Regions from separate parts of the Homo sapiens genome. Here region 2 is linked to region 1. The links are contacts of gene promoters, found by promoter capture Hi-C in human tissues and cell types (Jung and others, 2019). All regions are on one chromosome and are shown on one strand. The core of a region is centred on a gene start or on the middle of the fragment in contact, and the rest is flanking DNA. Distances in the headings are between cores, read along the strand shown. Region 1 holds the start of GJA3 (gap junction protein alpha 3). Region 2 overlaps ZMYM2 (zinc finger MYM-type containing 2).

Evidence for each region. Contacts are between HindIII fragments. The study calls those that stand out against the background at their distance.
Region 2: a fragment that was not itself captured here is called in contact with the fragment with the promoter of GJA3 in region 1 in 2 of the 25 tissues and cell types used here (IMR-90 fibroblasts and lymphoblastoid cells).

Annotation. Positions count from the first base shown.
Region 1 is chr13:20,158,803-20,163,396 of GRCh38, reverse strand. It overlaps GJA3 (gap junction protein alpha 3), which reads left to right and starts at 2,345. Exons shown (of 2, transcript NM_021954.4): 1 at 2,345-2,507. RefSeq lists silencers at 1,695-2,054, 2,285-2,364, 2,525-2,614. The HindIII fragment of the contact is 27,118 bases long and covers 1-4,594 here.
Region 2 is chr13:20,017,056-20,022,258 of GRCh38, reverse strand. It overlaps ZMYM2 (zinc finger MYM-type containing 2), which reads right to left. Exons shown (of 25, transcript NM_197968.4): 7 at 2,641-2,712. Among named protein-coding and RNA genes, the nearest start is that of ZMYM2, 61 kb to the right of the region's middle. The HindIII fragment of the contact is 4,232 bases long and covers 1,463-5,203 here.

The DNA.
Region 1 (4,594 bases), core at 1,096-3,595:
GACATTCAGCACTAATCAGTTTGACATATGAATATATCTATACACATATTTCTCCCTGAAATTGGCCTAAATACTCTTTCTTGGAACCAAATGAGAAGCAAACAACCTTTACAACTAAACATTAAACCATAAGATGAACATCTTAGTTGTCTACCTAGAAATTGTACAGTATGACAAGTGTAAAGAAACTGCTAGCTTCTTAGTTGTGCTGGTCTTTACACAATACCACTTTAAAAATTGTTTTATGGTAGTAAAATATACATAACCTTTAATTTACCATTTAACCTTTCTTAATGTGTACAGTTCTGTGGCATTAAGTACATTCACATTGTTATGCAACCATTACCATCATCTGCTTCCAAAACTATTTCTATCTTCCCAAACTAAAACTCCGTACCTATGAAACTCTATCTTCCCGTTTCCCACTGCCCCAGCTGCTGGTAACCACACTTCTACTTTCCGTCTCTATGATTTTGACTGCTGTAGGTACCTCATGTAAATGGAATCATACAGTATTTGTGACTTTTGTGACTGGCTTATTTCATTTAGCATAATGTACTCAAGGTTCGTCCACGTTGTAGCATGTGATGGGGCTCTCCCTTTTTAAGGCTGAATAATATTCCACTGTAGGTATGCAATACATTTTGTTTATCCATTCATCCATTGATGGACACCTTTTGGCTATAGTAAATAATGCTTGTATGAACATATATGTAAAATATTTGTTCGAATTACATAATATAATTTAAAATCTATATTTTAATAAAAATTTTAAAATTATTACAATATTATATTTCCATTTTTATCCTCAGAATACCAATAATAGCATTTGGCAAACAGACTACAAATATTAACAATTCCTAGTGCTTTTGTGATCAACAAAAAAAAAAAAACTATTCCTGTGCTTCTCAGAGAAAATGTTTTAAATGAGAAAAATATTCAAGTATTTTAAGACCTTCAAAGGTAGCATTTTTCAATTAAAAATTAAAAACTAAGTCTCCGTAACTACTACCTACTCCATACATACACCGCAAAGTTCCCAAAGGGAGAAGATATTTTAGATGCGCCTTTAGGAGCTTAGTTTTTCCTCCTTGGGATAACTTTAAATTCAGATCTCAGCAGAACAAACGCATTTTTCAGGGCAAGCCAACTGCTAATCCGAGTAGATCTAAACGCTAACGAAGGCAGCCGACGGAAGCTGCTCCATGAAGACACGAAAACTATCAGACTTGCATTTTGCCACATTCCTGGAATAAACTTATTACTCATAAAGGTGATTTTGAAGCCATTTCAGCTTGTGGAATGATCACCGAAATGCAGTCCACCGATATTTGTTAATATCCCAGGCTGGTCAAACCCCACTCCAGACCTTGGGGGACGGGGAGGGGACCCGCGGCCTCTCTAGGCTGTGCCCAGACAGCAGACAAGGACGCGATGCCGCCCTCGGTCCGCGGCCTTCCGCGGTAGGCGTCCCTCTCAAGCGTGGTAAAACCACCCCGAAGGGAACAGAAAACGTTAAAATCTTCGTTGGGCGCCAGCAGGCAGGTTAGGCCTCGCCCTGGCATCTCGTCTCCAGGACCAGATGGAGCGAGTGACCCGCGGGGACACCTTCCCGGTCACCTCGAGCGCAATAAAACAAGTTCTTTTTTTAAAAATAAGCATCCGTGTGCCTGCCGGCTAAATTAAGTGTGTCTGAAGAGAAGCAGGATGGCGGCCGCTATTTATAACCTCCCGCCCCGCCCGGGCGCCACTCCTCGACAGCACCCACGCTGTGCCCGGCGGCGCTTCCGCGGGGACTTCCTGCTCGGTGGTCCCCGCCCCGCCCCGCGCCAGCCGTCCGGAACCCGCGTCCCCAGGCGGCTGCAGGCGGGCGAGACCTAGGTGCCCGACGCCCACGCGCCTCCGACCGTGGGAGCGCCCGGAGAGCAGCTACCTCGCCGGGCCTGCGAAGCCCAGGACAGGCGCGAGCGGGGCGCGGGCTGGCGCATCTGCGTGCGGTGGGCGCCCCGCAAGCGGGTCGGGCCCGCCCCAACAGCCCTCGGCTCTCCTCTCACGTCCCGCGCGGGCATGCCCCGGAGTGCGTAGGCGGCAGGGAAGAGCCCCCGCGTCCACATCCCCAGGGCCCGCGCAGGTGCGGGATGGGGATGCAGGCGCTAGGCATGGACGTGCGCGCGGGGTAGGGTGTGGAATGCGGACGCGGGCGAGTGCTGTGGCTGCGCGTACAGGGTAGGGATGCGGGGGCGGTAGGTGTGCGTGCTGGGAAGCGCGCGGGGCGGGGCTGTTCGGAGGCGGCGGGGGCGTGGCGCGGCGTCCTGAGCTGCAGCTTGGGGGCGTCGGGCGCAGCGCACACTGGGGCTGCAGGGATGGCGATCAGGGCGGGGAGGTCGGGCCCTGGCGCGGGGCGCACGCGTGAAGCAGCACCGCACGTGTGAAAGGAATTCTTTTCAGAGCGGCCGGGAGCCCTGCTCCGGAGGAACGCACCCGGGTCGCCGCCGCGGCAGAGCGGGGTAAGGCGGGCCGGGCGCCCCGGAGGCCAGGCACAGGGGCCGAGGGCAGCGCGGGGCGGGGACGGGCGGGTCGGCGGCGCAGCGGAGCTGCCGGGCGAGCCCAGCGGGCTGAGACTGCCGAGCTGGGAAGCCGAGCCCCGGCACGTGTGCGGCTCCCAGCCCCCTAGGATTCTTTCAGGATTCTTCAAAAAGTTGTGGGGAGCTCGGGAAATTTGTGAGAAACTTTTGGAATAATTGATCTTCCTCCTTTGCTCCTGGAGGTCTGGAGAGCAGCGCCTCGTTTGGCTTCCCTTGATGGACAGTCCAAGGCCGAGTTTAAGTTGTTTTCCTGGGGTTGTTTTCCCCCTCGGGTGGAGGAAGCCGGGCTGTCCCGGACCGTCAGGCTGTAGGGCTCCTAGCGATGCTGAAATGCTTGAAAACTCTAAGCAGATGTCACCGCGCCAGCTAACGGCGCGCACCCAGCCGTCCACGGGCATTCAGCATCGCCGTGCTCCTAAAAGTCCTGTTGGGATTGTTTAGAAACAAGGTTGGCTCGCCTACATTTTTTTCAGAAACTTTTTAAAACTTTTTATTTTTAAGAAACACTGTAGCTATTAATGCCACGACCAGATTTCTCGACCTGTATGTTTGTTATGATGTGTTCAACTATAAGGAATTTGCAGAGGAGTGGAAAAGCACTGTCCGAGCCCCTTCCCGTAGGAGACTTGAGAAAACAAACGGCAGTGACGCGGCTGCATTTGCTTTGTTGCCGACTCCACACTAGTGAGCAAAATTCATCCTACCATGTAGAGTTCTCGGTTCGTGAATATGTGACTGCAACTTTAGAACTCCAGTTTTTATTTTATCAAGATGTCTCCAAAACATGCCATTTAAAAATGATTCTATACAAACAGCTGACAAGCGAATTATGGGTCTCATCACCCAGGAATTAAAAACCATGGTGATTTATGATGTGCGCATCACTTCACTGGCGGTCCATCCATGTGCAAGACAAACATTAAAAGATTAAAGAGGAAAAAAGAGGGATTTATTTTCCGAATATCAGTGTGTTCAAAGTAAACATCAGCTAGTTTGGCACAGATTCCACCTGCTCAGCAGTTTGGTTCATATCGAGATAAGCATCTCATAAGGGCAATGCATGTGTTGCTGTAGTGGAAAGTAATTCACGAAACGGTACTACTCTAACAAATCAGACAGTACTGTTTCTTAACCAGGAACCGTTAACTGGCTGAAAGCTGTCTTAAAAGAATGGCGGGTAACAAAATTTTTTGCCAATAAGGAAAATATTTTTGACCCAGTTTTCTTGAATGTTACTCACATTTTAACTTATTATATTCATTTCTCTTAGCTAAAATAACGTGTACACACTACATTTGAAACGAAAAATTACGTTTATCGCAGCCTTTTTTTTTTTTTTTTTTTTTTTTTTTTTTGAGATGGAGTCTCGCTCTGTCACCCAGGCTGGAGTGCAGTGGTGCGATCTCGGCTCACTGCAACCTCCCGAGTAGCTGGGACTACAGGCGTCTACCACCATGCCTTCTTCCTCCCTCCGCTGGATGGTAGCTATTCCCAGTACTATGTAGTACTTACATTTTGATCTGTTTTTTGCCACTCTGCCTCTCTCATAGATTGCAAATGAATCTCCTGAGAGTGAGGACTGGATCTTAATTGTTTTGCTGTCCTCAGTGTGTGGCACAGTGCCACACACAATAGGTAATAATGTTTTATAATAATAATAAATGTTTACTGAATTGAGGAGGGAAAAAATCCAATATATGTGACAACAGCATATATGTCTCTAAAAAACAGTATGTTTCTGCAATTTCTGTATAATGCTTAAAGGCAATAAAAATAATAAAGTTTCATCTTAATTTTCATTCCTACAGTGGTGGAAAATTCCTCATGATAACTAGGTTAGTACTCTACTGCTTGCTTTTTTTCTTTTTCTTTTTCTTTTTTTTTTTTTTTTTTTTTTTTGAGAGTTTTGCTCTTGTCCAGGCTGGAGTGCAATGGCACAGTGGCACAGTCTTGGCTCATTGCGACTTCTGCCTCCCAGTTAAAGCGATTCTCCTGCCTCAGCCTCCCTT
Region 2 (5,203 bases), core at 2,329-4,828, 140 kb after region 1:
GTCATAAAAGACAAACAAAAACTAGGGAACTATTTAGATTAAAGCAGAGGTAACTTCCACTCCCAACTAACAGAAATTAGATTTAAACCTCCCACCCACCTTTAACAACTAGAAAATTAGACACACACACAAAAAAACAATGGTTTTCAAACTCTACACACAAGGTAGCACAGAACTGTATACCTAACAAAAGGGAAACAAATCAAGTGAGTCCTGTGGCTGCCAAAGCTTGAGGCCTAGAAGTAGCTGGGGGAAGGGGAGGTTAACAGAGCCTACTTACTAGTTTCACTGAGTTGAGGAAACACAAGTCTTTCAAGGCAGCTAGAATTTGGGAAACAGAGTACTGATGATGATGGAGCTGCACAAAAAAGCTCTGATCTTAAAAATACATCTACCGACGTATTTTGGCTGAAAACTGATCTGTGATCTTAAAACTACATCTACAGACATATTTTGGCTGAAAACTGATCTGTGCATTCATGAGAAGAAAGCACCTGTGGCCAGAGAAAGAACCCCAGAACCACAAGAAAGCATTAGGCTAACAATTCCCAAAGAACACACATGGCCAGGAGTACTCTGTATTGCTACCTGTTCAAGAGTAGGATGACCTTGTAATACGGGGGATGATTCAGATCTCTCCAGGTATCACCGCGGTAGTATGAATAAATAGCCCCAGGCTAAAGTTTGCTCTACCAAAGTCTTTTCAAAAACTTAAAAGCAAGCCTCAAAAGGATCCAAATAATTCGAGGTTAATTTGACAGGATGCCAGAACAAAGTCCAACAAAACATTTAAAATAATACAACAAAATCCAGCAACCAATAATGTGAAATTCACAATATTCTGAATCAAACTTAAAAATGACAGGCATTTTGTCAAAAAAAAAAAAAAAAGCAGGAAAACATGACTCATTACCCAGAAGAAGAAAAAAAAAGAAAATCAAACTATAGAAACAGATCTAGAAATGGCAGATATGAAAACAGTAAGGCCGGGCGCAGTGGCTCACGCCTGTAATTCCAGCACTTTGGGAGGCCGAGGCAGGCGGATCATGAGGTCAGGAGATCGAGACCATCCTGGCTAACACGGTGAAACCCCGCCTCTACTAAAAATACAAAAAATTAGCCGGGCATGGTGGCGGGCACCTGCAGTCCCAGCTACTAGGGAGGCTGAGGCAGGAGAATGGCGTTAACCTGGAAGGCAGAGCTTGCAGTGAGCAGAGATCACGCCACTGCACTCCAGCCTGGGTGACAGAGCAAGGCTCCATCTCAAAAAAAAAAAAAGTAAACAGTAGGCAAAGATGTTAAAAGAACTATTATAAATATGCTAATATATTAAAATATTAGTAGAGGAAAACATGAACATAATTAGGCAGGAAATAGAAGATACAAAAGAGACAAATGGAACTTTTAGAGACGAAAAACATAACATCTGAAAAAATATGCTGCATGGTATTCACAGGTGATTTTAAAAGATCAGCAAACTTAAAGATACAGCAATAGAAACTTTCCAAAATGGAGTACAGAAGGAAAAAAAGACTAGGGAAAAACAATACAAATACAAACCACAATGCAAAATAAATACAAAACAGTACAAAAACAATACAAAACAATACCAAAAAACAAAAAACAAAAAACAAGCCTCAGTGACTGTGGGAAAGTGGCAGGAATTATCTGGAATTGGGGTCTCAGAAGAAGAGAGTTGGGAAAAGGCCTAAAAACTATATTTAAAGAAATAATGGGCCGGGCGCGGTGGCTCACGCCTGTAACGCCAACACTTGGGAGGCCGAGGCAGGTGGATCACCTGAGGTCAGGAGCCTGACCGACATGGAGAAACCCTATCTCTACTAAAAAAATACAAAATTAGCCGGGTGTGGTGGTGCATGACTGTAATCCCAGCTACTTGGGAGGCTGAGGCAGGAGAATCGCTTGAACCCAGGGGGCGGAGGTTGCGGTGAGCCGAGATGGTGCCGTTGCACTCCAGCCTGGGCAACAAGAGCGAAACTCTGTCTCAAAAAAAAAAAAAAAAAGAAGAGGAATAATAATAGCCTATGATCCTGTACTGGATTCTAGACAAGAAATAATTGTTTTTCATTTGCTGTAAGGGACATTAACAGACAAAATTTGAATACGCTCTATTGACTAACCTGACAATAATAGTTTACTGATGTAAATTTCATTATCTTGATAACTGTACTACAGTTAAAAGTCTTCCTAATTTTAAACACTTATTACTCATTACTAATTCATTTATCTGGATTAACAGGAACACAGACTTAGAAATTTTTTTGAAAGAAAGGGTTTTTTTTTTAACTTTTCAGGTAGGCACAAAAGAGAGGATTTTTATATCCCTTTATTAAATGCCTACTGTGTACAAGGTATTGTGCACTAAAAAAATCTGAAAATAATTTCCTAAGAACATAAATAACTAAAGACAAATGAGCATATCACAAGAAAATACATGTAAAATTAGTGAAATTAGAAATCTATGTCTCAGAGATAAAACATTCATCATTTGATACAATTTAAGTTTGGAAATTTTAATATATTTCAAATTGGACAAGATTTTTCAGATACATATTAATGACAGTAGTAGCAGTGCTCAAAAATGTTAAGGCCTTGAACTCCATTTACATTCCTGCTTACCTCAGGCTGCATTAAGAAAGAGTCCTGCATGTGATCTCGAACCTCCTTCAGGAAGCTTGGATGGCTACCTACCTAAAAAAAGATTTTAAAAGACTTTATAAACACACATAAAGAATAGCTGCTACATTGAAAGGTAAATAAGCATTATGTAAAAGTTGCTTCTCAATTATATTTTGTGACTTACAAACTCATTCCAACTTTTAAAAATGTCTGCCTGTCCTGTCCCCACTACTGTTGCCCAACTTAAAGAATTATCAAATAATTTTATCTTAGAAAAAATGGTATGATGATAAAACAGTAATAATGGGCTAAGGAATTAAAGATAGATACTTAGATCTGACTCACCTCTAATTTCTGAGTAAAATCACTTCTAATTTGGAGTGTTCTAAGATCTCTTTAAAAACTGTTAACACTTATAATGAAACTCGAAGCTTTCTAAATTAAGTCATTTGGAGATTATACAGCTACAATTTCCACCATATGCAAAATGGATTGAGAAATTGTTTTTTTTTGTTGTTGTTGTTGTTTTTTTTTTTTTGAGATGGAGTTTTTGCTTTGTCACCCACGCTGAATTGCAGTGGCATGATTTTGGCTCACTGCAACCTCCACCTCCTGGGTTCAAGCGATTCTCCCACCTCAACCTCCTGAGTAGCTGGGATTACAGGCGCCTGCCACTACGCCTGGCTAGTTTTTGTATTTTTAGTAGAGACAGGGTTTCACCATGTTGGCCAGGCTGGTCTCCAACTCCTGACCTCAAGTGATCGGCCCACCTGGGCCTCCCAAAGTGCTGCGATTACAGTCGTGAGCCACCGTGTCTGGCATGTTTGAGAAATTCTTTTGAAAGCACATATGACAGTTTCCAGCATATAATACGAATACATATCCTTACTCCTTGCACAAAAGTTTTAAAAGATATGCTTCCTGCTTTCCATGAAAGTCAAAATACTATGCTAGAAAAGGAAAACTACTGAAAGGCACAGGACAAGCATTATACAGTCTCCACTGCCAGGATCTAGATTATTAACTAAGTGTATCAATACACTTCAGAAACTAAGTGAGCAATGAGAGCACAGATAAACAACAAAAGGCAGCTAAGTTAAATATAACAGACAAAGGACAAAGGGGGTGAGAGGAAAGTAAGGAAGGATTATGATACAATTTTAGCTCCCAGGTTGCAGAGAAAGAAGACATTCACTATAGCATCTCATGTAGTTGTCTCCAAACACATCCAATTGGGTCTCTTTATCAGTAAAATAGTAAGGCATGGACTCCCACCTATTTATTTAACTAATGAATTATGAACATATAGTATGTAATTACAAAACATGCAAGTAATTTTAAAGAATAAAAGAAACACTATTTTAAATAATTTTTATTTATGTAATAATAGTACTAAGAACATTTTCTCTATCCACTGAAGAAGAATCATTTGGTGTCAGTAGAGATTATGTGGGGAACAGTATAAGGAACTCCTACTCCTCTAGTCAGGGTGGTATCAGCTAATGTCCAGAAAGGAGCCAGAACTCCCATATCCACTCAGCAATAACAAGAAGCTGCTTCTCCCTCACAGATGTAGAGAGGCCAAGTAGAGAGGCCGACCTTTTAACTCCACTTGGCAATACCATAGTACTCAAAATGTTCAAGTTTCAAATAAAAAAATCATTTATCATGCCAAACACCAGGAAAACTAGAATTTAAATAGAAAAGGACAATCAACAGATGCCAACACCAAAATTACAGAGATATTGGAAATACCTGACAAAGATTTTAAAGCAGTCATCATAAAAGTGCTCCAATAACCAATACACATGCACTTAAAAAACAAATGAAAACACAGAAACTTCTAGAAAAGAAATAGAAGATATACAGAAGAATAAAATGGAAAGAATCAGTGAACTGGAAGACAGAATAATAAAAAGTACCCAACCCGAAAAACAGACTGGGTGGGGGGAAAAGTAAAACAGAGCCTTAGGGATCTGTAGGCTTGTAACAAAAAAAAAAAAGTAACATTCATGTCACTGGAGTCCCAAAAGGAAAGGAAAAAGAGGACAGAGTTAGAAAAGTCCTCCAAAAACACTACTGTTTGAAATGTCTCAAATTTGGCAAAAGACATAAATCTACAGATAGAAGGTTAGCAAACACTAGGAAGGATAAAACCCAAAGAAACACCAAGATACACCAAATTCAAATTTCTGAAAACCAAAGACAAAGAAAAAAATCTTGAATCTGGCAAGAGAAATGACACACCTGTAGGTGAAATACAGTTGAAATAGCAGCCTAGAGAAACAGTAAGACAACAGCTCCTCTACTCCACAGACCCTAATCCCATTCACACAAGAAAAGGCCAATTAGCCTAGACTTCCACCCTGGCCGGGCTACAATGTGATGCCTCACCCCAGCACCCTAGCCATGGTAAAGTCAGAGAAGGCCAAGTAGGAAACTTGAACTTCCACCCCACTGGGTGGTAATTAGACACCTTAACCACCTCTACCCTAACTGAGGTGGTCTGACCCAGCAGAAAGTCAGAGCTTTTACCAACAATTTGCAGTAAAGAGGCCAAGAC